Regions from separate parts of the Homo sapiens genome. Here regions 1, 2, 3, 4, 5 and 6 are each linked to region 7. The links are contacts of gene promoters, found by promoter capture Hi-C in human tissues and cell types (Jung and others, 2019). All regions are on one chromosome and are shown on one strand. The core of a region is centred on a gene start or on the middle of the fragment in contact, and the rest is flanking DNA. Distances in the headings are between cores, read along the strand shown. Region 1 holds the start of LOC124902839 (small nucleolar RNA U13). Region 2 overlaps LOC100130987 (a long non-coding RNA gene). Region 3 has its middle 6.9 kb from the start of PELI3. Region 4 overlaps KDM2A (lysine demethylase 2A). Region 5 overlaps KDM2A (lysine demethylase 2A). Region 6 overlaps ZDHHC24 (zDHHC palmitoyltransferase 24). Region 7 holds the start of RCE1 (Ras converting CAAX endopeptidase 1).

Region 1 (3,964 bases), core at 1,181-3,680, 380 kb before region 7:
CAGACTGAATCTTAGAATGGGTACATAATTACCTCTAAGAATGACAGAGTTTTGAGGGGCGCCTCTGCCCGGCCGCCCCTACTGGGAAGTGAGGAGCCCCTCTGCCCGGCCACCACCCCGTCTGGGAGGTGTGCCCAACAGCTCATTGAGAACGGGCCAGGATGACAATGGCGGCTTTGTGGAATAGAAAGGCAGGAAAGGTGGGGAAAAGATTGAGAAATCGGATGGTTGCCGTGTCTGTGTAGAAAGAAGTAGACATGGGAGACTTTTCATTTTGTTCTGCACTAAGAAAAATTCCTCTGCCTTGGGATCCTGTTGATCTGTGACCTTACCCCCAACCCTGTGCTCTCTGAAACATGTGCTGTGTCCACTCAGGGTTAAATGGATTAAGGGCGGTGCAAGATGTGCTTTGTTAAACAGATGCTTGAAGGCAGCATGCTCGTTAAGAGTCATCACCAATCCCTAATCTCAAGTAATCAGGGACACAAACACTGCGGAAGGCCGCAGGGTCCTCTGCCTAGGAAAACCAGAGACCTTTGTTCACTTGTTTATCTGCTGACCTTCCCTCCACTATTGTCCCATGACCCTGCCAAATCCCCCTCTGTGAGAAACACCCAAGAATTATCAATAAAAAAATAAATTAAAAAAAAAAAAAAAAAAAAGAATGACAGAGTTAAACAGGAGTATTTTACTATGGAATTATACATTTTTTTTCTTTTGAAACATTTTCCCTATTTTAGAATATTTACCTATTTTAGAATAGACATCTTTTTTTTTTTTAAATTAACAGACTGTGTCTCACTCTTCCACCCAGGCTGGAGTACAGTGGCACCAACATAGCTCACTGCAACCTGGAACTCCTAGGTTCAAGCAATCCTCTCACCTCAGCCTCCCCAGTAGCTAGGATTACAGGCATGCACCACCACACCCGGCTTTGTTGCCCAGGAGAGTCTCAAACTCCTTGCTTCACATAATCCTCCCACTTTGGGCTCTCAAAGGGTTGGAATTACAGGTATGAGCCCCTGTGCCTGAACTGTACTTTTGTTACTCTTAACAAATAAAAAGAAATGTACTTTTATAAAATGTGTTGAAGAAGCACTGGCTTCCTCTCTTAATTCTACTAGTAGGGCAATTCCTGTAACTCCAACAATAATATCAATGATGTGTATAGTGATACGTAACTCCTACACCAAAATAAATGTTGCAAAATAGGCACCATAATGGTTGACTATTATTGCAGTACATAGGTCAGTGACCATTCCTATAATATATAAAAGACCATTCATATAAAAGTTGTGAATTCTTCATTAATTGTTATTTTAAAATTTTTAATACTTTTAATTCTACCAAAAAGTTTCAAGAGCAGTAGCATTAATAGTTCTACACTCTTCTCTGCAATTCTCCAACTGTTAACATTTCTCCACATCTGCTCATCTCCATACTAGCTTAGTATTCTGCTAAGCTACTTGAGAGTAACTTACAAACATCACAACCCCCAAATATTCTAATTGCTGTTTAATCCCAGTATCATCTATACTTTCATATATGATTCAGCCCTTACCAATTAGAATTCTGCTAAAAAATAAGCTCTCATTCTCTAAGGTGGAGGCTAGCCAGCAAACAACACTTAGTGGATTTGGCCTGCTGCCTCTTTTTATGATTCCTGTGAACTAGGAGTGTTTTTTACCTTTTTTTTTTTTTTTCGGGTCAGACAGGTAATGTGCTGACGTATTAATAGTAACAAGGTTCAAGGGTGGCATCTTTCACATACGTGCATGAACACCTAATCATGATCATGAACTATATAAAAGGATCGTTTTTTACATTTTTTAATGGTTGAAAAAAATTTAAGAGTATTCTGTGACATGTTAAAGTTATCTGAAATTCAACTTTCAGTGTCTATGAATAAAATTTTATATTATTTGAGCCACACTCATTTGTTTAAGTATTTCATGCTACAAGGTAGGGTTAAACAGTTACAATAGACACTTTATGACCCACGAAGCCTAAAATATTTACTATCTGGTCCTTTGCAGGAAAAGTTTGTCAACTCTTGCCTTAAGGTATCCATTGTATATAATAAATTAACTTTTTTCTATGCATCTAGAAGGGTATTAGCTGTGTATCATCCTAGAGAAAAATGAGAAAATAAGATACACAAATTATTTTATTTTGGGCTTAATTCTCTCTTGAAACCCCAGTTGAGAAAGACAGTATATACATTTATATAATTAAAGTAAGATGCTTTGAGTATAGTCATCAGTGTAGAAAAAGATACATGAATTTAAAGTTCTGAAATTTGGGTTGATAAGCCCCATTACACCAAATTATTCTGTGAGCATAAAAATGAAACACATGGCTCAAGAGATTACCAGAGGTAAATGTCTGGCCTTATAAAAATCCAAGATACTGTGGGATGCAGTAGCTCACACTTGTAATCCCAGCACTTTAGGAGGCCAAAGCGGGCAGATCACTTGAGCCCAGGAGTTCAAGACAAGCCTGGGCAACACAGCAAAAACCCATCTCCAAAAAATACAAAAAAATTAGCTGCATGTGGTGGCGTGTGCCTGTAGTCCCAGCTACCTGGGAGGCTGAGGTGGGAGGATCAACTGAGCCCAGGGAGGTTGAGGCTGCAGTGAGCCATGACTGTGACACTGCACACCAGCCTGGGCAACAGAGTGAGACTCTGTCCCAAATATTAAAAGAAAAAAATGTTACTTTTTCCCATTCACTATGGTGTTGGCTAAAAAATAAAATAAAATAAAATAAAATTTTAAAAAAAGGAAAGAAAAAGAAATCCAAGATACCAAAAACCTCACAGAATTGGAGTCCCTAAAACGGAGTATGTAAATCGTGTTAAAATTTTTATTTGGCCAGTCGCAGTGGCTCACACCTGTAATCCCAGCACTTTGGGAGGCTGAGGTGGGAGGACTGCTTGAACCAGGAGTTCTAGACCAGCCTGGGCAACGCAGTGAGACCAAGTCTCTACGAAAAAAATTAAAAATTAGTCAGATGTGGTGTGCACCCACGGTCCCAGCTACTTGGGAGGCTGAGGCAGGAAGATGCTTGAGCCTGGGAGGTTGAGGCTGCAATCATCCATGATCACGCCACTGCACTCTAGCCTGGAAAACAGAACAAGATTCTGCCTTAAAAAAAAAAAAATTAAATTTAAAATTTTGTGTGTTCCCAAAATGTCAACACTGCATTTTAACTGAAAGAAAAATGGAAGTTTTGATAAACCATCAGTGAATCTCTTGTAACATCTATCATAACTGGAGTAAACCTCTTCACATGCAACTGTTACATAAGATTACTTACCCGTGTCCGATCTTCAATGTTGTATATTTTTAACTGCATAGGGATGTTGAAGCTATGCAAAAAATTGCCCCCAAACACTAATGTGTCTGTAGGAGTATACACAGCATGAATCCAGCCTAGGAGAAGGGGAACAGAGGGCAGTGGCTGAAAACACACATTACAGTAAGTCTCTCTCAGAGAACTAGTACAAGACCCCTAGATCACACTCTTCACTCTGATTCTGCTTCTTAGTGGTTTGTCAAGTTACTTAATCTCTCAAAGCCTCAATTTCCTCTATAAAACCAGGATAAATAATACCTCTTATGGTTGCTCATGAGCATTAAATGAGAAAATGCACATCAAATGCTTAGCACATAATAAACGTTTACTGGAGCACCAACTATAAACCAGGCTCTGTACAAGATAGTTTACAATTCAGGGGTGTCCAATCTTTTGGCTTCCCTGGGCCACACTGGAAGAAGAATTGCTTGGGCAACACATAAAATACGCTAACATGACCTGGCGCGGGGGCTCACGCCTATAATCCCAGCACTCTGGGAGGCTGAGGCGGGTGGATCACGAGGTCAGGAGTTCAAGACCAGCCTGGCCAACATGGTGAAACCCCGTCTCTAGTAAAAATACAAAAATTAGCTGGGCATGGTGGTGC
Region 2 (4,204 bases), core at 318-2,817, 480 kb before region 7:
CTCTCGAGGGCCATCAGAGGATGGGAGTCGGTCTGCCAAACCAAGAGAGGAGCTGCACAGCAGTGTGTGCTGCCTGGGGAGACAGGCTGCTGCTGTTCTGGGCAAAGCAGGCCAGCTCCAAGCCTTCTCAGGCCATATGAAGATAAATTAGGTAGGATGCATATAACCAGCTCCCTCTCCCCAGGGGCATCCTCCTTTACCCAAACCTGTCTCCCACCTCCGCCTCCATGGCTCTGGCTTGAGTTATGCCAGCAGGTGGGACCCTGCTTTAGCCTTTAGCCTGAGCCTTTACATTCCCTGCCGCACTCACCTTCCACCTTTACCTCTGTGGCTCACTGAGCTGCTCTGCCAGGGCTGCCAATGAGATGGGGTCGCATAGGGTGTAGCATTACTATCCAGGCCAATCCCATCAGGCAAACTTTTGCTAACTTCCTTCCCCACCCAGTGGGAGAACAGTTTTCCTATTCCTGGTTCTCTAACCCAGATACAGAATCCCCTGAAGTCTCACAGCTACCCAGGGTGCCTATCTGGGAGAGGGTGCACCTGGCAGAGTCAAGGGGAAGAGCACAAGTTCTCAGTGCCCTGAGAACAAGTCAGCATGTACTGAGAGCATGAGAGTGAGAGAGAAACTCAGATCAAACTTGTCCAATGACAGGCAGAAGCTGTGCTGAGATAAGACGCTGAGGAAAATGGGCAGTAAATTCTAGCTGAAATGGGAACAAAGGAGAGTCTTGGTCTAGTTTCAGGTTAACCTAGGACCGTGCTCTCACTAGCAGGCAGATGGCACCCTGTCAGTGATTATGGAGGTGGTGGAAAGATCACTGCTCTCAGTGGCATCATTTAGTTCTTTGACCTACAACCTAAGAAATCAGATCCCTCACGTGGAAAAGTGAAAGTCACAATACAAGACCTTACAGCTGTTGAGGTCAAATGAGATCACATGTAAGTGCCAGTGCTTAGTAAACTGTATAGGACCATAACGCCCTTGAAGTAGGTGGACAGAGGCCTCCATGGCAGGCACTGGGCTGTCATAACCTCTTATCAAGTACCAGGCCTGGAGCTACTCAGGCTTCACATGCACTTAGCTATAAGGAAATCCTGATACACACTGCAGGCCCTTACCTGCAGCCTGTGGAGCGGGAGTGAAGTGGGAAAGGAGGATGAAAAGGAAGAACCATTCTCTGGAGAGGGAGCACGGGCTGCCAGAAGGATGGTGTAAAGGCTCACCTTGAGTTGCGTCTCCAGGAGAAGGAGCATTTGTGGCCCCCAGATGTCCTCCAGCATCCCATATCTAGGGACAAAAAGGACAGCCAGTTGTGCTCTATCCCCTGTCTGGTTGCACCTGCTTAATCTCTCCCCAGCTTCCTTGTTCTAAGGATGACTCCACCTTCTGAGCAACAAAACATTCCACGGGGAATCTAGACCTTGGATGAATTAAACAGGACTTGGGAGGATTTGCCCTGTCCTCAAGCCATTCTCCTTTCAACCTTTTCTACTTTTGCTATCCCAGCTCCTGAGGTCATTCTCCCCTCCACAGGCCATTAGACACCTGTCTCTAAGGGGTCTCCTTCAAGGCTAGCTCCTAGGGCAGGTTCAGCCCTGGACAGAACTGGAGAATGGCAGGGCCCTGGCTGAAGTCAGCTTCCTTCCTGTGCAGCAGCGGCAGGCCTTGGCAATCTGCTGGCATGGTGGACACAGTTTCCCACTCCCAACTGGGTCACAGATGGGAGAGAAATCTCCCTAGGAAGGAGCCATAGAAAAAGAAAAGCCAAGAATGGACACAAGAGTCAAGGGAGTGTCCATCACTGGCCTGAGGACTGCTGCATGGTCCTATGCTTCCGTTTCCTTCCCTCATGGTTCTTCACCTTAGTTCCAGGGAAAGAGGCTCACAAACCCCCTATCCATTGATGAGACCTTGTTCCCTGGGCTCTCAGCTGGTACTGTGCCAAAGATGCCAACAATATGGCCCTTGCCCCATAATCATCTGCCCATTCGCTTCCTTCCCCTAGAAGAATGGCTCTGAGACAGCAGGTGAGTCTAATAAAAGAGCTTCAGGGTAATATAGAGACCACAGCTCCATTCCTCTCTACAGGAAACTCATAGCCCCTATTCATTCACTAATATTTACCATGGCAACCATGTGCCAATCAGGGGAGGAAAACGCTGACCAAAATCTAGTCCCTGCCTCCCAGAAGCTCACCATTTAATCAGGGCTGCAGATAGCTCTTCTTCATGTATCTCAAAGCTATGGAATGGGTGCCCAGAATATCTTTTCCCTACTTCTTGGCATATCCACATTGTTTACATGCTTTAGGAGGTTCAGAAGCTGTCTTCTTGATTCTCTCATTACACAGTGTGACTCGACAGCGATCTCTCCTGCCTCTGAATCTTCAGAGCAGTAACCTGGACCTCTCTATGACACATCACTTTCTACTTGAATTTTATATGTTTTAAATGCATAATTGATCTCCTCTACTAGACTGTATTTCCTGAGGGCAGAGAGTGTCTTATACATCTTCATATCCCTCACAGCACCCTGCACAGTTCCATGTACACAGTAGGTGCTCAAAAAATATTCATGGAAAGCCAAGCGTGGTGGCTCACACCTGTAATCCCACCATTTTGGGAGGCTGAGGTGGGCAGATCACCTGAGGTCAGGAGTTCAAGACCAGCCTGGCCAACATGGTGAAACCTCATCTCTACTAAAAATACAAAAATTAGCCAGGCATGGTGGCGTGTGCCTGTAATCTCAGCTACTTGAGAGGCTGAGGCAGGAGAATCGCTTGAACCCAGGAGGCAGAGGGTGCAGTGAGCCGAGATCACACCACTGCCCTCCAGCCTGAAAGACAAAGTGAGACAAGACTCCGTCTCAAAAAAAAAAAAAAAATTTCACGGAATATAGCTTCCATATAAAGATGTTTGTTGGACGAATGAAGGCTTGTTCGTGAAATTATTGGATGTTCCCAGATTTTTAAAATACTTTTTTCATTAATTTAAAACTCCTTGTTACAATTTTCTCAATTAACACAAAGCTTGAACTCAATGCAAGCAGCATAGAATTCTTACGCATTCTTTATAACCATGAAAGTAACCAGTCTTATGTAAATACATAATTCTATATTCAGCTGTTTTTGCATCATAAGTACTCACATCCTCTATGAATCTTAAGTATCCACCCTACTATGTGGCATTAAGCCTGCATCCTCCCTAAATGCTGTGTGGTAACGCTATAATTCAGCCTACAGCTGAAGGGAGGCAATACACTGGCCTTGAGCATCCAACCTTGGGTGAAAAGACTCAAGTTTCCCCATCAAAATCAGCCTATAAAACCATCCTGCCTAGCCAGGTGTGGTGGCTCACGCCTGTAATCCCAACAATTTGGGAGGCCGAGGCGGGCAGATCTCTTGAGGCCAGGAGTTTGAGACCAGCCTGGCCAACATGGTGAAACCCCATCTCTAACAAAAAATACAAAAATTAGCCGGGAGCGATGGCACACGCCTGTAGTCCCAGCTACTCAGGAGGCTGAGGCACGATAATCGCTTGAACCCAGGAGGAGGAGGTTGCAGTAAGCAGAGATCACGCCACCGCACCCCAGCCTGGGTGACAGTGAGACCCTGTCTCAAAATAAACAAACGAACAAAAAGCAAAAAACCGCCCTGCTTAGGAGAATGAACTTGCCCAGAAATAAAGTGAATTCAAAAATTAAGAAAAGGTCTTATGGTGGCTAGGGACTATTGTAGAAATTATCAGAAACGATAGTTGGGACCTGGGATAGCAGTTCCTCTATGCAGTCCCTGGGCTAAAAACTTACATGCGTCATCTCATTTAATCCTCAAAAACCTGAGGTAGTATTAACATTATCCCCAATCTTGCAAATGAAGAAGCTGAGTCTCAAGAGATGTCCTAACTTTGCCCAAAGTCACAAACCCAAGTTTCTCTGACTCTAGATCCCAAGCTGAGAGTCTTGCTCAGATCATCCCAGGTCCCCTTCTTTCTTCTTGCACTTGGGGTGCAATAAGGGGCAATGGGGCCAGCAGTGTGTAACATACTGCACCGTAGGAAGAGACGTTAGGATCATCGGTCTCAGCCTCCGTATTTTACAGAGGAAGGAACTCGTAGGTCACACAGAGCCAGGGGGCTGCTCTGCAACAGAATCTCAATGGACACTAGAATTCCAGTCCAAGCCCCATTTTACAGAGCGTGG
Region 3 (4,058 bases), core at 361-2,860, 380 kb after region 7:
TACCATGCCCAGCTTAGTTTATTTCTATTTAAAAACATTTTTTTAGAGATAGAGTCTAGCTATGTTGCCCAGGCCGTTCTGAAACTCCTAGTGATCCTCCAGCCTCAGCCTTCTGAGTTGTCGAGATTGCAGGTAGGAGCTACCATACCAATCTACACATTATGAAGGATGACAATGTTGCTAAATTACCTGCCACTATACAACAAGGATCTCCTTCCCTTGAGATCCAATAATATTTTCCCACTTTCCTTTCAGCTTTCACTATCAGCCTTCTCTAAGGCCATCAGTCTTCTTAAAGTAGTCCCATGATCCCTCACTCCTGGTATTCACACCTTTATGTCAACCCCTTCCCTTGAATGTGGGTGGGCAGGACCTATGACTTTCTTCTAACCAACAGTATATGGCAAAGGTGATGGGTTGTGCCTGATTACATGCACATAGTGATGTTATTATGTTATATAAGTTTGTAGCACCTGTCTTGCTGGGGTCTCTCTCACTCCTTGCTGGCTTTAGAAAAGCAAGCTGCCATTTTGTGCACTTCCCATATGGGGAGGCCCATGTATCAGGGACCAAGAGTGATCTCTAAGAGCTGAGAATGGTTTGCAGCCAGCAGCCAGCAGAAGGAAAAAAAAAAAAACAAAAAAAAAACCTCAGTCCTGGAGCTGCAATTGAATCTGCCAACAAAAGTGATTCTGGGCTGGGCGTGGTGGCTCACACCTGTAATCCCAACACTTTGGGAGGCTGAGGTGTATGGATCACCCGAGGTCAGGAGTTCAAGACCAACCTGGCCAAAATGGTGAAACCCCATCTCTACTAAAAATACAAAAATTAGACAGGTGTAGTGGTGCACTCCTGTAATCCCAGCCACTAGGGAGGCTGAGGCAGGCGAATTGCTTGAACCCAGGAGGTGGAGGTTGCAGTGAGCCGAGATCGTGCCACTGCCCTCCAGCCTGGGCAACAGAGTGAGACTTTGTCTCAAAAAAAAAAAAAAGAGGATTCTTCCCCAGTTGAGTCTCAGATGAGACCACAGCCCTAGCAGACTCCTTGATTGAAGTCATGTGACACCCTATGCTGAGGACTCTGCGTAGCCATGCCTGGACTCCTGATCCCACAGAAACTGAAGTAATAAATGTGTGTTGTTTTAAGCTGCTATGTTTGTGGTATATTGGTATACAGCAGTGGATGACTAATACAAAGGCTTTCAGACTTTTGCTAACACTATACTTAAAGTCTTTCTAGCCTCTGCTCACTACTCCCACATTTTTAGGTATTTTTTATTGTCCTCACTCCTGGCATTAAATCTTTTTTTTTTTTTTTTGGCTGGGCACGGTGGCTGACGCCTGTAATCCCAGCACTTTGGGAGTGAAAGTGAAACACAGTGAAACCCCGTCTCTACTACAAATACAAAAAAATTAGCCGGGTGTGGTGGCGGGTACCTGTAGTCCCAGCTACTCGGGAGGCTGAGGCAGGAGAATGGTGTGAACCCAGGAGGTGGAGCTTGCAGTGAGCCGAGATAGCGCCACTGCACTCCAGCCTGGGCGACAGAGTGAGACTTTGTCTCAAAAAAAAAAAAAAGAGGATTCTTCCCCAGTTGAGTCTCAGATGAGACCACAGCCCTAGCAGACTCCTTGATTGAAGTCATGTGACACCCTATGCTGAGGACTCTGCGTAGCCATGCCTGGACTCCTGATCCCACAGAAACTGAAGTAATAAATGTGTGTTGTTTTAAGCTGCTATGTTTGTGGTATATTGGTATACAGCAGTGGATGACTAATACAAAGGCTTTCAGACTTTTGCTAACACTATACTTAAAGTCTTTCTAGCCTCTGCTCACTACTCCCACATTTTTAGGTATTTTTTATTGTCCTCACTCCTGGCATTAAATCTTTTTTTTTTTTTTTTGGCTGGCTCTGTCGCCCAGGCTGGAGTGCAGTGGCATGGTCATGGCTCGCTGTAGCCTCAAACTCTTGGGATCAAGCAATCATCCTACCTCAGCCTCCTGATTAGCTGGGACCACAGGAGCATGCCACTGTGCCTGGCTAATTTTTATTTTTATGTTTTGTAGAGGCAGAGTTTCACTATGTTGCTCAGGCTGGTCTTGAACTCCTGGGCTCAAGTAATTCTCCTGCCTCAGCCTTCCAAAGGGCTAGGATTACAGGTGTGAGCCACTGTGCCCAGCTGGCACCAAATCTGTCTTAGTTATTGCTGAGTAGCAAATTATCCCAATCTAAGCAGCTTAAAAGAGTAAGTGTTTAATCTCATACAGTTTCTAGGAATCACGAACTTGAAAGCAGTTTAGCTGAGTGTTATGAGCAGTTCCATGCAAACCTACCCCCAAAGTCCAAGAAAGCTGAGAGGCTGAAGAAAGAGACTGACAAATCCAGTTTCTCAGAAAGAAACATTTAATGACTTAGAAACAGAAGTGATGTCTTAGGCGGCTGCAAGACAATGGATCCCTGCACCCACACTCCAGAAGGTATCCTTTCTCTTTTAGGGTAAAACATGTGCAGCTGGTCACGTCTTCAGACTTCTTTTTGCCAAGATCCATGACCACTGGCGGGGTTTAGATAAGCATCTTTGTGAGGGGCTTTCTATGCTAGAAGGTGTTGTTTAAAGAGCTTACTGCAGAGCACCTTGGTATGTGGGGGTCAAACATCAGTCACCACAAGAGTTTCACTTCCAGATGGTGTCATATTTGCCATGAAATACACTGTTTTCCTATGCTGGGACCTGAGTTCTGGCTCAAGTGTCTCATGGGGTTGCAGTTAAGAAGTCAATTGGGACTTTAGTCATAAGAAAGCTTGAGGGCCGGGTGATCTACTTCCCAGAGGCTCACTCATATGCCTGGAAAGTGAGCGCTGGATGTTGGCAGGAAGCCTGGGTTCTTCTTCATGTGGACCTCTCTGGAGGACAGCTTGAATGTTCTTACAACACCAACACGGCAGCTGGATTCTCCCAAACAAGTGACCCAAGAGTCTAAGACAAAAGCCACAGTGAGGCTGAGCAGTGGCTCATGCCTGTAATCCCAGCAGCTTTGGGAGGTCGAGGTGGGAGGATTGCTTGAGTCCAGGAGTTTAAGAACAGCCTGAGCAACAATAGTGAGACCTCGTGATATAGTTTGGATATATGTCCCTGTTCAAATTTCATGTTGAAATGTAATCCCCAATGTTGGAGATGGGGCCTGGTGGGAGATGATTGGTGGGGCAGTTCCTCATTAATGGTTTAGCACCATCCCTTTGGTGCTATGCTTGTGATAGTGAATGAATTCGCATGAGATCTGGGGTTAAGTGTGTGGCACTTCACTCTCTCTTGCTCCTGCTGGCCATGTGACATGTCTGCTCCCCCTTCACCTTCCACCATGATTGTAAATTTCCTGAGGCCTCCCCAGAAGCTGAGCAGATACCAGCATCATGCTTCTGGTATAGTTGGCAGAACTGTGAGCCAATTAAACCTCTTTCCTTTATAAATTACCTAGTCTCAGGTATTTCTTTCTTTTTTTTTTTGAGACAGAGTCTCCTTCTGTCACTCAGGCTGGAGTGCAGTGGTGTGATCTCGGCTCACTGCAGCCTCCACCTCCCAGTTCAAGCGATTCTCCTGCCTCAGCCTCCAAAGTAGCTGGGATTTACAGATGTCTACCACCACGCCCGGCTAATTTTTGTATTTTTAGTAGAGATGGGATTTCACCATGTTGGCCAAGCTTGTCTTGAACTCCTGACCTCATGTGATCTGCCCATCTCGGCCTCCCAAAGTGCTGGGATTATAGGCATGAGCCACCACGCCTGGCCATCAGGTATTTCTTTATAGCAATCTGAGATTGGCCTAACGTGCCTTATCTCTATGAAAAATTAAAATACTAGTCAGATGTGGTTGCACATACCTGTAATCCCAGCTACGCTGGAGGCTGAGGCAAGAGGATTGCTTGAACCTGGAAGGTAGAGGGTACAGTGAGCTATGATTGCATCAGCCTAGACGGAAGAGTGAGACCGTGTCTCAAAAAAAAAAAAGCCACAATGTCACACAGTGTCACTTCTGCTTTATTCTATCAATCAGAACAATAA
Region 4 (3,893 bases), core at 1,078-3,577, 320 kb before region 7:
GTATGATCTCAATTCACTGCAACCTCCGTCTCCCAGGTTCAAGTGATTCTCCTGCCTCAGCCTCCTGAATAGCTGGGATTACAGGCGTGCACCACCACGCCTGGCTAATTTGTTGTATTTTTAGTAGAGACGAGGTCTCGCCACGTTGGCCAGGCTGGTCTCAAACTCCTGACCTCAAGTGATCCGCCCGCCTTGGCCTTCCAAATTGCTGGAGTTACAGACATGACCCACCACGCTCAGCCCAGCACAGGAGTTTTGACCTGCTCAGTTTCCAACCTGAACCAGTGTACTCCCTTCTTGGTCCCCAGTTGCTGGGAGGTCACCATATTGATGCCAAACTTAGTACAGATACCTGATCTGTATACTGCATTACAGCCCAGAACTCCTTGCTTCAAGAGATCCTCCTGCCTCAGCCTCTCAAGTTACTGGGACTACAGGTCTTATGCCACCATGCCGGGCAAGAAGTAATCTTTAAAGCACCCCCACTCCACCCTCATACACAAATACTACTATTGGAAACAATAATATAACTCAGAAATATTCAGTTTCTCAGCCAGGCACCGTGGCTCACTCCTGTAATCCTAACACTTTAGGAGGCCAAGGCGGGCGGATCACTTGAGGTCAGGAGTTCGAGACCAGCCTGGCCAACCTGACAAAATCCTGTCTCTACTAAAAAATGTGAAAATTAGCCGGGCATGATGGCATGTGCCTATAGTCCCAGCTACTTGGGAGGCTGAGGCACGAGAATCACTTGAACCCAGGAGGGAGAGATTACAGTGAGCCGAGATCACACCACTGCACTCCAGCCTAGGCGATAGAGTGAGACTGTCTCAAAAAAAAAAAAAAAAAAAGAGAAATATTGTTTCTCCTGAAAGTCAACCAATTTTTTAACTTGATTTTCATTAGCCAGTGAAACACCTACTGAAATACAAATACTCCCTGAATACTTCTGTTTACTGCCTGATTTCTGTATCAACAAACACAGAAAAGGGAAACAAAGATAATGCCTAGTTTCTTCACCACCTTTTATAATTGATGCAACTGTTAAGTCATCAGTATAATACATGGTACTGGTCATGCCAATTTAGTTCCTAGAATATAAGGATTAATGAAAGTATTATACAAATAAGAAGTTATGGAAAAAGAAAAAACCCCTAAAAGTTGACCGTAAATCTAAAGGGGAAGTAAGAGTGACCTTTCTTTTTGCCAGTCAAGAAAGGTTACTATAAACCTGAAAGAACAGCTTGTCTTAAAAAACACTAACTCTAGATCTTTGCTTGGTTAATGATAAAAACCATGAAATTTGTCACACATGCTGTTTCTCCTAAGTCTTTAAGTGAATTAAGGGAGATAGCAAGCAGTCACTTGAAACCAGAAGATAGTCTATAAATGCACCTATTTTCCAGCTTTGCTACATTCCTCTCATCAGGAAGCTTTCCTACATGATCCTTCTCTCTGGAGCTGTGATTAATGTTTTGATTCATAGACAAAGGTCAGTCTCTTAATCAACAAATGACCTCTATTTCAAACTGTCAAACTTAAGATTTATGAAATTTCACATCTAGGAGTAGAAGCTTTAGAAGGAACTGGCATAAGATCAAGAGTTGGTATTCTAAGCTGGGTGCGGTGGCTCACACCTGTAATCCCAGCACTTTGGGAGGCTGAGGTGGGCAGATCATCTGAGGTCAGGAGTTCAAGACCAGCCTGACCAGCATGGAGAAACCTCGTCTCTACTAAAAATACAAAATTAGCCAGGTGTGGCGGCGCATGCCTGTAATCCCAGCTACTCAGGAAGGCTGAGGCAGGACAACTGCTTGAACCCAGAAGGTGGAGGATGCGGTGAGCCAAGATCGCGCCACTGCACTCCAGCCTGGGTAACAAGAGTGAAAGTCGGTCTCAAAAAAAAAAAAAAGTTGGTATTCTAAATTACTCCCTTCAAACACATATACTCCTACCCGTCCCACTACCACCATTACATTACAGTCCTGGCAAGACCTCTTTCCTTCTATGTGTTCAGTCACCCCATCTGCACCAACTAAAGTTAAAGCAGAGAAAACTATGTCTTCATCGCTGAAATTACCTAAGAAAGTTACTCTAAGAGTGGTAAACTGACTAACATCATTAAAAAGTACAATAGCAGGCCAGGCGCGGTGCTCACACATGTAATCCCGGCACTTTGGGAGGCCGAGGTGGGTAGATCACTTGAGATCAGGAGTTCAAGACCAGCCTGGCCCACATAGTGAAACCCCACCTCCACTAAAAATACAAAAAATAACCAGTCCCAGCTACTCAAGAGGCTGAGGCAGAAGAATCGCTTGACCCTGGGAGGTGGAGGTTGCCGTGAGCCGAGATTGTGCCACTACACTCCAGCCTGGGCGACAGAGCAAGATGTCGTTTCCAAAAAAAAAAAGTCCAACAGCAGTCAAGTGTGATGGCTCATGCCTGTAATCCTAGTGCTTTAGGAGGCCATGGTAGAGGATCACTTGAAACTAGGAGTTCAAGACCAAGCCTGGGTAAAAGAGCAATGTCCCATCGCTACAAAAAAACAACAACAACAAAAAAAGGCCAATAGCAAGATCAACACTTAATGAACAGTTATACACAAGCCACCAGAGAAACTAAAAATGTAAGTTAATAATCACATCTCTGTTAAACTTCTCCAGATTTAAGTATCCCATCTAAAACATTAAGAAATCATCTTCAATCAAGCTAAAATTCTTATATCTGAAATCAAAAATTCACTTTCAGGTATGAACCTATATTTACTATGTTTAGCAAAACTACATAATCAGAAGAACAAATGGATTAGAGTCAGAAGTAGGTCTGGGTCTAGGCACTGCCACTTTGAGCTTCAAATTCCCTAAGCTTCCATTTTCTCATGTGAAAATGTCAAGAATGTCACCTAATGCACAGGATGGCTGTGATGTTTAAATGAAAACATATATACAAATACTTTGCAAATGTGGCCTTATATATAAAAAGAGGCTGTATAGAGTAGTGGCAGGGTCCAGACCAGGTTTCTAGAGTTCAAATCCTGGTTCAGCCTCTCACTGTGTCTGACCTACTTAACTAGTAATAACAGAAGCCATTCCACAGGGTTGTATGAGGATTAAATGAAAGATGTAAAGTATCTAGCACATACTCAAAAAATATCAGCAACTGTGATTTTTTTTTTTTTTTTTAAGATGGAGTGTCGCTCTGTCACCAGGCTGGAGTACAGTGGTGCTATCTCGGCTCACTGCAACCTCCGACTCTCAGGTTCAAGCGATTCTCCTGCTGCAACCTCCCGAGTAGCTGGGATTACAGGTACGCACCACCACGCCCAGCTAATTTTTGTATTTTTAGTAGACACGGGGTTTCACCATGTTGGCCAGGATGATCTCGATCTCTTGACCTCATTCATGATCTGCCTGCCTTGGCCTCCCAAAGTGCTGGAATTACAGGCGTGAGCCACGGCATCTGGCCCAGCAATTGTGATTTTGAACATGATTCTACATTGGACTGGAAATCAACTGTATGTCCCAAAAAGAATGGCCTAAGTGGCTAGAGATAAGTCATACTTGCCTCTTCTCCAATGGCATTAAATGTCCTTCTTTATCATTCCAAGTCATAGAATTTTCCAAGTCCATACCTTTTGGAATTAACTCTTTTATGATTCCATCTCTAAATCTCTTCATATCAAATGTCTAATCCTAGGGATGAAATTTTATGAAATTCAACAACTGTATCCTGCCACCGATTTAATATGAAGTGGCCATCTCTGCAAGATGTTATTTGAGAAGGCCCTGCCCTAAGTGGTAGAGTTGGTTATGCAGCTGCTGATCCTTCAAGAGAGTTTGAAGGAAGGTCAAACATAAATACGAAAGTGTAGCGCTAGAAGACAGAGTAGCAAT
Region 5 (4,173 bases), core at 1,525-4,024, 410 kb before region 7:
CCTGTCGGGAAAGTGGACATAATGACAGTGCTCACATACACACAGCTTTCCTCTGCCATTCAATTCCTGTAGCCGTCTTTCCTTCAAAATGCTAAACAAAAGCCCTCTTTGTCCCACAACTACCTGGCTCAGAGACCAGAAGTGCCATCAGCACCTCCAAAGGGACCCTGCTGCCTCACTCCCATCACCATATGACAACAAGCACAAGGGCTGCAAGGCTGACCAAACTCCAGCTGGATGTTGGCTGCGCAGACAGGCAACCGACTTAACTACTCAAGGCCTCAGTCCCCCATCAGTTAAAAAAGGGATAGAAATCCATGTCCTTGTCCAGATGTGAAGAAATGAGCTGATGTGGGTCAATCAACAGACCCAAGGTCATTCTGGTTTACTGATCAAGTTCCAGGGAGGGCTGGAGGCAGGGGGCACCGCTGATTATGAACAACTGTAGCGGCATACCTGCCATATTGAGCTCTGTGAGAGAGTAGCGAGTGGAAGACCCGACAGCAGTGAGTAGATTGGAGGACTGATCTGTAAGGTGGCTGCAGTGACTGAGGTCGAGTCGAGACAGGAGGGGCATGTGGCGAATTATGAGGCGAAGCGTGGCATCTGTGATGTCAAGGCCTGCCAGCCGGAAGTCGGTCATGTTCCGGAGCTTGCTGCGATTGTCCTGACCTGTACAGGCAAGAGAAGAGCCTAGATCAAAACTCTCAATTCTCTAATCCAGCTTCAAGGCTCCAGGCAGCAACAGCTACTTGCTGGCCAGGCCCCCTTGAAGGGGTTAAGTAGAACTGCCCACACCCAGCCATGCCTTCAGGGTGTGAGCACTGGGTGTAGGCAGTTTCTAGGAAACCAGACAAGTTTTCTTTCTTCTCAAGCTGCTAGATTATGCCTCATGCACACAGCAAAAGGCTATGTGCAGAATGCTCCTCCCCTTCCAATACCACCACACTTTTCTAGACCATCATGCAAATAGCTTTTGACTCCACCTCCACCATAAAGCCTTCTCAGACTTTTTCAGGCTTACACTCTCTGGGCCCCAAACTCCACCAACTCACAAAATGGACTTACTCCATTGTTTGTAGGTAGTTATCTGCTTATAGTTACCCTATTCTTGTACACAGTCCATCATTCTGTTTTCATTTTGTGCTCTTCTATTCTTCCACAGCGTCATATCTGAGACTACCTTAGCTTCTGAAGACGAGGTCTGTTTGGAAGACAAAGCTACCCCAAGACAAGCACAGAGAAGTCAGGTCCAGAGCATACCTGGTTTATCAGCCGGTGGAGTAAGCAAGTCCCGAATTTGAGGGTCCTTGATTCCTACTGCCCACCGAAGATCAAGGGTCCTGAGAAGGGGGCAGCTGGAGGTGCTGAGGGCAGAGACTGCAGACCAGGAGCAGCCTGCTAGGAGGAGGTCTTTCAGTCCTGCAATGGATGGAATGAGACATGTAATAATACACTGTTTCCCAGCATACTCAGAGCCGTAACGATCTGAGCAAAGTGAACAAACTTCCAGTCTAATAGGAGAGAAGGACTATGCCTAATCTTTTAGTCATCCAGCTCAAAGATTTCCATGGTATCCTATACTACATCTTCTAGCTTTAGTGGTAAATTGATTGCTTAGTTCCCACCAGAGCAATACAAGAAGGAGTGACTTCCTGTCTTTCTAAGAGCTCAAAATGCTGAAGAGAACAAGGGCTTATAAGGAGCTGACCAAAGTAACATCTGACTCAAATTTCCTCTTTAGTGGTTATGCTGAGGAGAACTGCAGGGCTGGCAGCAACACTGATTCCGTTCTCTTTGCTGTCCATTGCAGTGATTGGCCTGCCAGTCCAGAGTGCTGCCTGGGAGACTGACACTTAAGATGGCCCTGGGTAAACCTCTTGCTAAGCAACAATGGCATGGGACTGCTGCCCTACACTGCCCTCCAGTGATGCTAAGAAGCACTGCCAATAATGCAACTTTTCTTGCCCGCTTCTTCTGGGCCCCTGGAAAGACAGCGGCAGGGCTGCTCACTTACCTGGCAGCCTATTGACGAGCCATGTCAGTTGCTTTTTAGAGATGTTGGTCCAACTGAGGTCAAGGCTGACTGGCTGCCTCTTGATGATGCCACTGAGGGCCTGGGGCACAATGGCCTTACACCTACTCAAGTCAATTTTTGTCCAAAGTCTCTTGTCGCAGCACCTGTGATAGAAGGGAAGAGAACTCGCCTTCATTAACTTGATCAGTGGAGCTCCCATCACAGGCTGCTTATGGCTTCTGGGAAAAGCAGAGTACCTGGAGGCTCGTTCTTCTACAAGTGTACAGGGATCACACCTTATCATTTTTTGCCTCACAGAATAGGCAAAAAATTGCCTTGAACTCTACAACAACTAGACGCTTTGCAAACCTACATGTTGATAGTATATAACTTGACCACTTTACCCTGATTTATTCTGGAGTGTTTGAGAACACAACAGTTGTTAGGGACCCATAGCAAGCAACAGTCTATAGCCCCTTCATCTGTATTAAAATGGCATGGTTCCTGCTGAAGTGTATATAAGGGAGCCTCTTGAAGTTTCTAGACTTCTTACTGTCTAAAGCTAAGAAGGCCTGCTCCGTTCCCTCCCTTGTCAATCACTCGCAGCTGCCTGAAATGCAGGGTGCTACTCAGCACATCCACAATTCACCCTGCCTTCAGCCCATTACTGTATCAGGTCAAAAGAGGCTCTTTATCAGGCTTACAGAGTCCTCTCTCACCCTCAAGTTCTGCCTCAGTGCTATCCTGACATTTTCTAGCCAGGCCAGACCAGAACTGAAAGGGATAGGCCTGGCTTTCCACTGCAGTCTACAAATCTACAGGCCACAAACCACAACATGCTGGCTTCAATTTAATATTTTATAGCCCCTGCCCCCCAGCCTGGTTGGCAGGGGAAGAGAGACAGCACATAACGGGAATCTGATGTGCCTTGCCCTGAAAACCAAGAGGTAGAGCCAAGCAGTCCTATTAGCCCTAGACAGAGAAATATTAAGGAGAATTTAGATACACTATACATTAATTCAGATTTGGGAAATAAACTCATGTTTGCAAAGAATAGGGTCTATTTAGAGACTGAAACAATTTTACCAGTGGCACATGAAGCTTCTATGGCAGAAGCAAGCTGCTGACAATACAGCAGATTTTGCTGCTCTAAACTCGAGCATGCATCAGAGTCCCCTGGAGGAGCGCTTGTTAAAGCAGACTGCTGGGCCCACCCAAGAGGTTCTGATTTAAGAGGCCTATGAGGGTCCTGACAGTTGACATTTCTAAAAAGTTCCTGAGTGAATGCCATTGGTCAGGACACCACACTACTGTAATAGGATGTGTGTGACCCAGATAAAAAGGATATATCCTAGAGTAAATATATACCAGAGTTTAAGGAAAAACCAACAATGCCCAATGGGAAGCTCCTTGTTCATCATCACTAGCAATTTTTTCCCCCAAGTGTCTGTCCAACTTAAGAAGAAATGGTAGCTCTCATTAAGGAAGCTTCAAAACTGGACTCTGCTTGCTGGAAGAGGGAATTCTGATCCAGGTTTGGGGGGATGAGCATTAAAACTGAAGAAAAATGTTAAGCACCTTCAAATTCATCTTGAAAAGCATGCCCACTTCTCTCACTGAATGGAGAGGTAATTGAGTCAGGGGCTTAAGTGAGGTTATCTGTGTTATCAGCACCAGAAGAGTGACTAGAACATCATAGGCTCTCAACCAACATGTGATGAGTTCAGCTGACTTGAGGAGGAAATTTTCAGCCCGCAAGACTCTCAAGTTTTATCACAGACTACAAATCTATCCCGCAAATCAGTCTCCCTCCCCATAACAATGAGACATGGGAAAGTATAGAGCAGGGCCAGGAGGCAAATGGCCAGTTCCCTAATGACATCTGCGGGTACAACAGGCTACATCTTTAAACAGGACCCAAAGTTTGGGAAAAAGGGTCAATTCACTCCTCATAAGACCCCACAGGCTTTCAGATGCCAAGGTGCATGCTGTTCTCATATGGAAAACCTGCCACCTACTCCCATACCCCTAATTCCTGACCCCCTGAATCCCTGCTCACCATTTATACCACGTCTTGCACACTCGCATACATTCACAAAGTTCTCTGCGGCTGAGGTAGCGGAAGACAGACATCCAGACCTCCCGCTGCATCCAGC
Region 6 (3,941 bases), core at 136-2,635, 310 kb after region 7:
TGCCCGGCCGCCTGGCTGACATTTTCAAAGATGGAAAGTGGATGGAGAATTAAGAGCTGAAATTATGTGTTCCCAAAAGGTGGGGCCAAAAGGCAAGTGGAATTACCTGCCAGAGCCCCGGAGGGGCTCAGGAACTCCACCAGGACCATGGAGGGTGAGGTGAGGCTTCGGCCAACAATGGGGACCGATGGAAAGTCTATGTAAGGATCAGTGGGGTGCCGCTCCCCCACATCCCACCCACACCCCACCCACATCATGCAGCCAGCAGCTACACCTCTGGGTGGGGTGGTGTGACGTGAGGATTATTTGAAGGATAAATGGAACCAGAGAAGCTTCGGGTCTTAGGCGTACTGGGGAGGGGTGGGTGAGAGGCTAGACCAAAAAATGGGGTTAAGTGAAAGTCCATAGATACTGCTGGGGGGCCTCCCATGAAAGAACATGCTTGACCCCCAAGAACCTTCAGAGAAACCCACCCTCTGACAGGCTCTGCCCATGCCCACAAAGATCTGAGCTGCTTGGCTGGTTGTTTTTGTAACAGGCATGCTCTGTTGCTATTTTTTAATGACAGGAGGAACTTGGTGTACCTGGCACTTTGGGCTGCACAGACGCATTAGCAGACTCACCTTGTCCTGTTTCATCCCTCGCCCTCCACAATTTCTTATTTTCTTTCTTTCTCTTTTTATTTTTTGAGACAGAGTTTCACTCTTGTTACCCAGGCTGGAGTGCAATGATGCGATCTTGGTTCACCGAAACCTCCGCCTCCCGGGTTCAAGCGATTCTCCTGCTGCAGCCTCTCGGTAGCTGGGATTACAGGCATGTGCCACCATGCCCGGCTAATTGTTTTTGTATTTTTAGTAGAGACGGGGTTTCTCCATGTTGGTCAGGCTGGTCTGGAACTCCTGACCTCAGGTGATCCACCTGCCTCGGCCTCCCAAAGTGCCGGGATTACAGGTATGAGCCACTGCGCCCAGCCCACAATATCTTATTTTCATGTTTTTTTGTGTGTTTTGTTTTATTTTTCGAGATGGAGTCTCTCTGTTGCCCAAGCTGGAGTGCAATGGCGCGATCTTGGCTCACTTCCTGGGTTCAAGCGATTCTCCTGCCTTAGCCTCCCAAGTAACTGGGATTGCAGGCACCCACCATCATGCCCTGCTAAATTTTGTACTTTTGTAGAGATGGAGTTTCACCATGTTGGTCAGGCTGGTCTTGAACTGCTGACCTCAGGTGATCTGCCCACCTTGGCCTCCCAAAGTGCTGGGATTACAGGTGTGAGCCACCATGCCTGGACTCGTTGTTGTTGTTGTTTTTAATTAGTGAGGAGCTACAAGAACACATTTATAAAAATTAAGAGGAAACAGCCCCACTGCATTTGAGAAGGTTACCATTTCCTTCGAAGTTCCTGCTGTTGCCCCTTCCTGGTGGGGGAGACACTGTCCTGTTTCAGTCATTCCGTTGCTTTGCTTTATAGTTTTATTAATGTGTTTGTGTTGGCTTTGCATGTTTTCAAATATATGAATGAAATCATGCAGAGTTTATTCTTTTACAGTTTGCCTTTTCACTTGATTATGTTCCTGAGATGTATCCGGATTATTGTGTGTAGCTGTATGGCATTCCTTTTCCCTGCTGCCTAGTGATCCATTGAAAATACAATAATTGATTTTTCTATGTGGTTCCACTGGTCATTTTTCTGCCCCTGTGCCCTTTGGGAATCATCTCCTAAACTCTAGTCTCGGCCCTTGCTCTTCCATGTAACCTTGAGAATCAGCTTGTCAAATTCCCCCCAAAAACCCCTTGAGATGTAGAATGGAACCCAGCTGAATCTATAGATCAGTCTGGATAAAATCAGCACCTGTGTAAAATTGAATTTTCCCATTCATGAGCAGGGTTTATTTCTGCACTCAATGTTTTCAATAAAGTTGTGTACCTTTTCCCATAAAGATCATGCCTTTTTAAATTGGATTAATTCTTAAGTATCTGATATCGTATGCTATTATACATGCACTATCAAAATAGACTGTGAGCCTGGGCAACATAGTGAGACCCTGTCTCTGCAAAATACAAAATTAATGGGGGCTGGGCACTGTAATCCCACACTTTGGGAGGCTGAGGCGGGAGGATCACTTGAGGCCTGGCGTTTGAGACAAGCCTGGACAACATAGTGAGACCCTGTGTCTTAAAAAAAAAAAAAAAGCCTTGTGTGGTAGTGCGTCTGTAGTGTGGGGGATGGGGGTGGGCTGAGGTGGGACGATGGCTTGAGCTCAGCAGGTCGAGGCTGCAGTGAGCTGTGACCGTGCTTCTGCACTCCAGCCTGGGTGACAAGAGCTAGACTCTGTCTCAAAAAAACTAAAACAAAAACAAAAGTTGTGTCCAGGCCAGGTGTGGTGGCTCATGCCTGTAATCCCAGCACTTTGGGAGGCTGAGGCAGGCGGATCACCTGAGGTCAGGAATTCAAGGCCAGCTTGGCCAACATGGTAAAACCCTGTCTCTACTAAAAATACAAAAATTAGCCAGGTGCAGTGGTGCATGCCTGTAATCCCAGCTACTCGGGAGTCTGATGGAGGAGAATCACTTGAGCCCGGGAGGCAGAGGTTGCAGTGAGCCGAGATCACGCCAGCACACTCTAGCAGATCACGAGGTGAGGAGATCGAGACCATTCTGGCTAACACGGTGAAACGCTGTTTCTACTAAAAATACGAAAAATTAGCCGGGCATGGTGGCAGGCGCCTGTAGTCCCAGCTACTCGGGAGGCTGAGGCAAGAGAATGGTGTGAACCTGGGAGGTGATGCTTGCAGCGAGCCGAGACCGCGCCACTGCACTCCAGCCTGGGCGACACAGTGAGACTCCGTCTCAAAAAACAAATAATAAAATAAAATAAAATAAAATAAATGAAAAAAATCTTTAAAAACTCTAATGACTTTATTTTTTTTGGTAGGGACAGGGTCTCACCATGTTGCACAGGCTGGTCTCCAGCTTATGGGTTCAAGCGATCCTCCTGCCTTGGCTTCTCAAAGGGCTGGGATTACAAGTGTGAACCACTATACCCGGCCTCTAGTGACTTTTTTTTTTTTCTTTTCTTTTGAGACAGAGTTTCGCTTTTTTTTTTTTTTTTTTTTTTTTTTGAGACAGAGTTTCGCTCTTGCCCAGGCTAGAGTGGTGTAGTGGCGCGATCTTGGCTCACTACAACCTCCACCTTCCTGTTTCAAGCAATTCTCCTGCCTCAGCCTTCCAAGTAGCTGGGATTACACGCGCCTGCCACCATGCCTGGCTAGTTTTTGTATTTTTAGTAGAGATGGGGTTTCACCATGTTGGCCAGGCTGGTCTCGAACTCCTGGCCTTGTGATCTGCCTGCCTCGGCCTCCCAAAGTGCTGGGATTACACGTGTGAGCTACCACGCCCAGCCAGTTTCGCTCGTTTTGCCCAGGCTGGAGTGCAGTGGCACAATCTCAGCTCACTGCAACCTCCGCCTCCCGGGTTCAAGCGATTCTCCTGCCTCAGCCTCCCAAGTAGCTGGAACTACAGGTGTCTGCCACCACGCCTGGCTAATTTTTGTATTTTTAGTAGAGACAGGGTTTCACCATGTTGGCCGGGCTGGTCTCAAACTCCTGACCTCAGGTGGTCCGCCTGCCCCGGCCTCCCAAAGTGCTGGGATTACAGGCGTGAGCCACAGTGCCCAGCCTTCTGGCCATGACTTTTTAAAGAAGATATTTGAGGATATGTTTCACCAAATGAGGGTGAACTGAGAAATAGGAAGCCATCAGGCCCAGGAATCAGGATCTAGCCCAGGAGAGAGGCAAAGGCAATTTACCTGGAAAACAAACAGTCCTCAGTGAAGCAGGGGATGAAGGGAAGTGTCTAGAAAAAAGAGGAGCTGTCAGATGGTGGGGGAAGAATTAGCAATCAGTCCATCAGAAAACAAAGTAAATGAGAAACTCAGGGCAACT
Region 7 (4,122 bases), core at 589-3,088:
TCATCATACACCCTAACCCAGGCCAGCTAGCCAGGACTCACCAGCAGACAAGAAGATGTTCCCCACGCTGCTCTGGCGGAAACGCAGCTGCTCAATAATATGGTGAAAATGGGCTGGGAAAAAGGTGACAATCACATCACAGTCATTCCTCCCAGCCTCCCTTCTAGGACTGCCCCTCACCTCAAGCCCCCTTCTGAGCTCTCATGCTGAAAACACACCAGGACTAATCTGGCCAGACTCACCAACTCCAAAAAAGAGCGGGCAGGTGAACACAGCAGGGCCCAGGCCCATGCACGGTGCTAACATGGGCAGCATACAGGCCCGGAACACCAGCTCCTCTGTCAGCGGGGCGATCACTTGGTTCCGCAGCCAACGCATGTCTGTGAGGCAGCGGGCCCAGGAGCGGGGGGCTGCAGAGGGAATTCAGGACAAGCTGTGAGTGACGGGCTGTCAGACAGTGAGACCCCAGAGGCTCCAAGGGCTCCTCTCCCACAACTTTACCCTGGCCAAACTCAGGTTAGGCATCAATACTGCTGAGGACGGGGGTGTGGACCCAACATAAACCCAATGTCTTGAGATGACCTGAATGGAAGGCATTAGCTGAGGCAAGGGCATCCTGGAAGTAAACTCTGGAGACACCAAAATTTAAGCAAGACTAGCTCTGGTTGGGGAAGCAGGGGACAGTGCTCTCTGATCCACACCAAATACTGCTGGGGGTTCCCAGGGAACTCCTTGGACGTTGGCAATCAACCCTTAGAGGCCACCTAGCTCTATGTTTCCATTTTACTGATGAGAAAACACACCCAGAGAGATGACATTTCACGTGTCCAGATCACACCCTGAGCCCGCTGACTCCCTGCCCCAATGTCCTGGACTGCCTGTGCCTACTTTTCCCTTCAGCCTTTAAGACTCACCCAGGACAACCTTCAGCCCATCTGCCAGGTCACAAGGGCAATCCATAGAGAGCTGCATCAGTGGGCCCAGGAAAAGAATCTGAGGGCAAGAAAACACTTTCACCATAACCCACCGCTTTTGCCCAGACCTTTGCCCATGCTCCCTGAGACTCCAAGCTTGAAATCCTCTCCAGCCACGATTTCCAGACCATGCATACCGGAGGACCCTGGGGCCATCTCAAAAGTCCTGTCTCCCATCAACCAAAAACCAAAAACAAGAGTCCACGGCACTGCCCATCAGGCTGATAACAAAGACCAGAAGAAAAAATACAGCAGGAGCACTCACCATGGTCAGCAACAGGGGCAGCAGCGCCGCTGGGAAAATGCCCTCCAGCCTGAAGCCCATCAGGGTGAGCAGGGATGTGCCTGGCTGAGCCACAGGAAAGGGGGCATCAGTTTTGCTTCCTCCCCTAAAGACCCCTGAGCTCTCACCGCCGTTGCCCTTTGCCCCGCCTCCTTCGCACCTGGATGCCTGTGAGTTCCCTCCAGAGCAGCACGCACAGGGGTGAGAGACTGGACACCACCAGGACGCTGGTGAAGCGTCGCTTGATGACCGCGGGATGGTCCCTACGGAGGGGACAGTAAGTTCAGGGGGCCCGCGGCTGCCCATGAGCACGGACCCGCCCCCGGCTCGCCCAAGCTCCGCCCGCAGGGCGCGGATTCCGGTCGCGCGCAGCCCCCGCACCTGGGCAGTTCGCTCTTCCAGACGTAGAGGCTGCCCACGTAGGAGCAGGCGAGGCTGAGGCAGGAGAACACTGACACCCAGCAGCACAGCCCGGGGCCCAGGCCGCCCAGCGCCGCCGACTCGGGCGGCCGCTCCGGCCGCGACACCGACAGCAGTCGCAGCCCATCCCCGCCCAGCGCCGCCATTGCGCCCTGACCCGCGGCGCGCACCAGTGACGCAGTCCCAGGGAGGTGTGGGTGACGTCAGGCCGCGGCGCGGCTCCACGCCCCGCCCCGCCCCGCCCGGGCCCGACGCGGAAGCAGACGCGGAAGAGGACTTGGTGAGCGCGCGGCAGCTTTATTAAACCACGGGATAACGGCTGCCCGCAGCCTCCGGATCGGTGGGCGCTTGCGGAAGGGGACCCGGCTCAGGGCCCAGGGCTGGGACTCAGCCACTCTGACAGGTTGGAGACCTCCTGCAGCCACAGCACGTCCTGCGGGAACAAGGGGGCCCGGGGTGAGGACCTCTCAGCAGCGGCCCGTGGCCTGCACCTCCTGCTGAGCCCTTCCCTGCGCGGCCCTCGCCCAGTTACCTCCAGGCGGCTTCCGAGGCTCGCCCTGCCCGGCGCCAGGGCCCTGCCGTGAGCCTCGCGGTGCTCCCTTCCTCTAGGAGTGAGGGGGGCCGCGGTGGCTTCCGGGCGGCGCGGGGCGGCCTCTGACGGGCTCGGGGCCCTGGCAGAGCGCAGAGCTCGCATCTCCTCTATGCGGGGGCTGCCCCTCTTGAGCCTCTTGTTTTCTGCTTGCCCGCTGGTATCTAGGAGAAAAACAAGCCTCTTCATCTTACTTTCATGGCCCTGTGCTAGGAGCACCCTTGGCCAAGGGGAAGCCTGGGAGAACGGGCGCCGAGGGGCTCTTCCCACCGCATCCCTGTCAGCAGGTCCCATCCACACCAAAACCCTGCAGCTGTGGGCGCTTCTGGAGCAGCCCGAGGCTGCAGAGACGTTTCAGGGTCTCCCTATTCTCTCACCCAGGCGGGAGATTGTCCCGAGCCCTCACTTGGGGGACTCAGGCCGCTCAGTAACTTTCTGTATAGATTCTTCCTGGAGTCTGCACTGACAAGCTCCCCTCCCTGCCAGCCTCTGTCCCCCCTCACCTTTCTGGCCTCAGTTCTGTCTCCCTTTGTTGCTCACGTTGCATTGAGCAGTGCCCATAGGCAGCTTTCCTACTCTTAACTGATTCATTTGTCAAATTAAAGCGAGTTTAGATGGATAGATTCTTCCCCAGCAGGTCTTGGGGATGCAGATCAATGAGCTTTTCCCTGAGAGAAGCTCACAGATGCTAGGAGGGGATGCAGACCTGTGTACAAAGCCCAGGGTTAGAATAGAGAAGGAAGCCGACCACCTCTGGATGTGAAGAAGGGTTTCCATGAGGAGATACCTGAGCTGACCTTTTGTTTTTTTGAGACAAGGTCTTGCTCTGTTGCCCAGGCTGGAGTGCAGTGGCTCAGTCCTGGCTCACTGCAGCCTCGACCTCCTGGGCTCAAGCGATCCTACTGCCTCAGCTTCAGCTTCCAGAGTACCAGGAACCACAGGCGCATGCCACCACACCGGCTAATTTTTTTTACTTGTAGAGACAGGGGTCTCACCGTGTTGCCCAGGCTAGTCTCAAGCTGTCCTCCCGCCCCAGCTCCCCAAAGTGACGGTATTACAGGCATAAGTCACCACTCCTGCCCCAGAGCTGGGTTTTGAAGGATGAAGAGTGATATGCCAGACAAGGGAGAGAAAGGGAATTTCTTGCTGAAAGTTAACACAAACCTTATGCAAAGGCATAAAACAACTTCCTATGTAAATTTTTACTTTTTAAAGATGAGGTCTCGCCTGTCACCTAGGCTGGAGTGCAGTGGCGTGATTGTAGCTCACTGCAGCTTTGAACTCCCGGCCTCATCCTCTCGAGTAACTGGGACTAAAGGCACACACCACCTTGCCTGGCTAGAAACAGATTTTCATCTGTAGAAGACAGGAAGCCAATAAAGAGTTTTAAGCACTGGTGAAATATATTGGTAATTTTGTACTTCAGAAAGATCGTTCTTTCAAAGGTGTGGCTTAGATCAAACTAGAGACAGGAAGACCTTAAGAGCCCAATAACAAGTAAAGACAGTGGAGATAGAGGCGTCACCAGGAATCAGAAGTGTTCATCAGGCCTAAGTGATAGGCCTTTGTGAGCGCCTGGATGTGGGAGAGGCCTCTTGGCCGGGCGCGGTGGCTCATGCCTGTAATCCCAGCACTTTGGGGGGCCGAGGCGGGCAGATCACGAGGTCAGGAGATTGAGACCAGCTTGGCCAACATGGTGAAACCCCGTCTCTACTAAAAATACAAAAATTAGCTGGGCATGGTGGTGGGCGCCTGTAATCCCAACTACTCAGAGGCTGAGGCAAGAGAATCACTTGAACTTGGGAGGCAGGGAGGTTGCAGTGAGCCGAGATCACGCCACTGCACTCCAGTCTGGG

Evidence for each region. The method cuts DNA at HindIII sites, captures the fragments that hold promoters and counts their contacts. A contact is called where the count stands out against the background at its distance.
Region 1: a fragment that was not itself captured here is called in contact with the fragment with the promoter of RCE1 in region 7 in 1 of the 25 tissues and cell types used here (adrenal gland).
Region 2: a contact is called between a fragment that was not itself captured here and the fragment with the promoter of RCE1 in region 7, in 1 of the 25 tissues and cell types used here (hippocampus).
Region 3: a fragment that was not itself captured here is called in contact with the fragment with the promoter of RCE1 in region 7 in 1 of the 25 tissues and cell types used here (lymphoblastoid cells).
Region 4: a fragment that was not itself captured here is called in contact with the fragment with the promoter of RCE1 in region 7 in 3 of the 25 tissues and cell types used here (IMR-90 fibroblasts, adrenal gland and small bowel).
Region 5: a contact is called between a fragment that was not itself captured here and the fragment with the promoter of RCE1 in region 7, in 1 of the 25 tissues and cell types used here (dorsolateral prefrontal cortex).
Region 6: a contact is called between a fragment that was not itself captured here and the fragment with the promoter of RCE1 in region 7, in 1 of the 25 tissues and cell types used here (dorsolateral prefrontal cortex).

Annotation. Positions count from the first base shown.
Region 1 is chr11:67,218,758-67,222,721 of GRCh38, reverse strand. It overlaps KDM2A (lysine demethylase 2A), which reads right to left. Exons shown (of 21, transcript NM_012308.3): 10 at 3,319-3,434. LOC124902839 (small nucleolar RNA U13) reads right to left here and starts at 1,814; the gene lies at 1,706-1,814. RefSeq lists an enhancer at 1-464. The HindIII fragment of the contact is 8,883 bases long and covers 1-3,964 here.
Region 2 is chr11:67,318,357-67,322,560 of GRCh38, reverse strand. LOC100130987 (a long non-coding RNA gene) reads right to left here. Exons shown (of 4, transcript NR_024469.1): 2 at 1,228-1,291. Among named protein-coding and RNA genes, the nearest start is that of SSH3, 17 kb to the right of the region's middle. The HindIII fragment of the contact is 6,804 bases long and covers 1-4,204 here.
Region 3 is chr11:66,457,935-66,461,992 of GRCh38, reverse strand. No RefSeq gene overlaps it. Among named protein-coding and RNA genes, the nearest start is that of PELI3, 6.9 kb to the left of the region's middle. The HindIII fragment of the contact is 3,279 bases long and covers 1-3,249 here.
Region 4 is chr11:67,163,144-67,167,036 of GRCh38, reverse strand. All of the region lies in intron 2 of KDM2A (lysine demethylase 2A), which reads right to left. Among named protein-coding and RNA genes, the nearest start is that of KDM2A, 46 kb to the right of the region's middle. The HindIII fragment of the contact is 3,841 bases long and covers 407-3,893 here.
Region 5 is chr11:67,250,702-67,254,874 of GRCh38, reverse strand. It overlaps KDM2A (lysine demethylase 2A), which reads right to left. Exons shown (of 21, transcript NM_012308.3): 17 at 4,077-4,173; 18 at 2,018-2,181; 19 at 1,264-1,422; 20 at 457-672; 21 at 1. Among named protein-coding and RNA genes, the nearest start is that of GRK2, 14 kb to the left of the region's middle. RefSeq lists enhancers at 1-219, 220-720, 177-1,376. The HindIII fragment of the contact is 4,594 bases long and covers 478-4,173 here.
Region 6 is chr11:66,533,622-66,537,562 of GRCh38, reverse strand. ZDHHC24 (zDHHC palmitoyltransferase 24) reads left to right here. Exons shown (of 3, transcript NM_207340.3): 3 at 1-1,937. Among named protein-coding and RNA genes, the nearest start is that of ZDHHC24, 10 kb to the left of the region's middle. The HindIII fragment of the contact is 6,777 bases long and covers 1-3,941 here.
Region 7 is chr11:66,841,157-66,845,278 of GRCh38, reverse strand. RCE1 (Ras converting CAAX endopeptidase 1) reads right to left here and starts at 1,838. Exons shown (of 8, transcript NM_005133.3): 1 at 1,639-1,838; 2 at 1,418-1,520; 3 at 1,240-1,323; 4 at 915-993; 5 at 243-410; 6 at 42-113. The coding sequence starts at 1,823. TOP6BL (TOP6B like initiator of meiotic double strand breaks) reads right to left here. Exons shown (of 15, transcript NM_001302084.2): 14 at 2,210-2,430; 15 at 1,763-2,110. The coding sequence ends at 2,045. RefSeq lists an enhancer at 1,261-1,967 and silencers at 1,608-2,047, 2,158-2,297, 3,515-3,641. The HindIII fragment of the contact is 26,172 bases long and covers 1-4,122 here.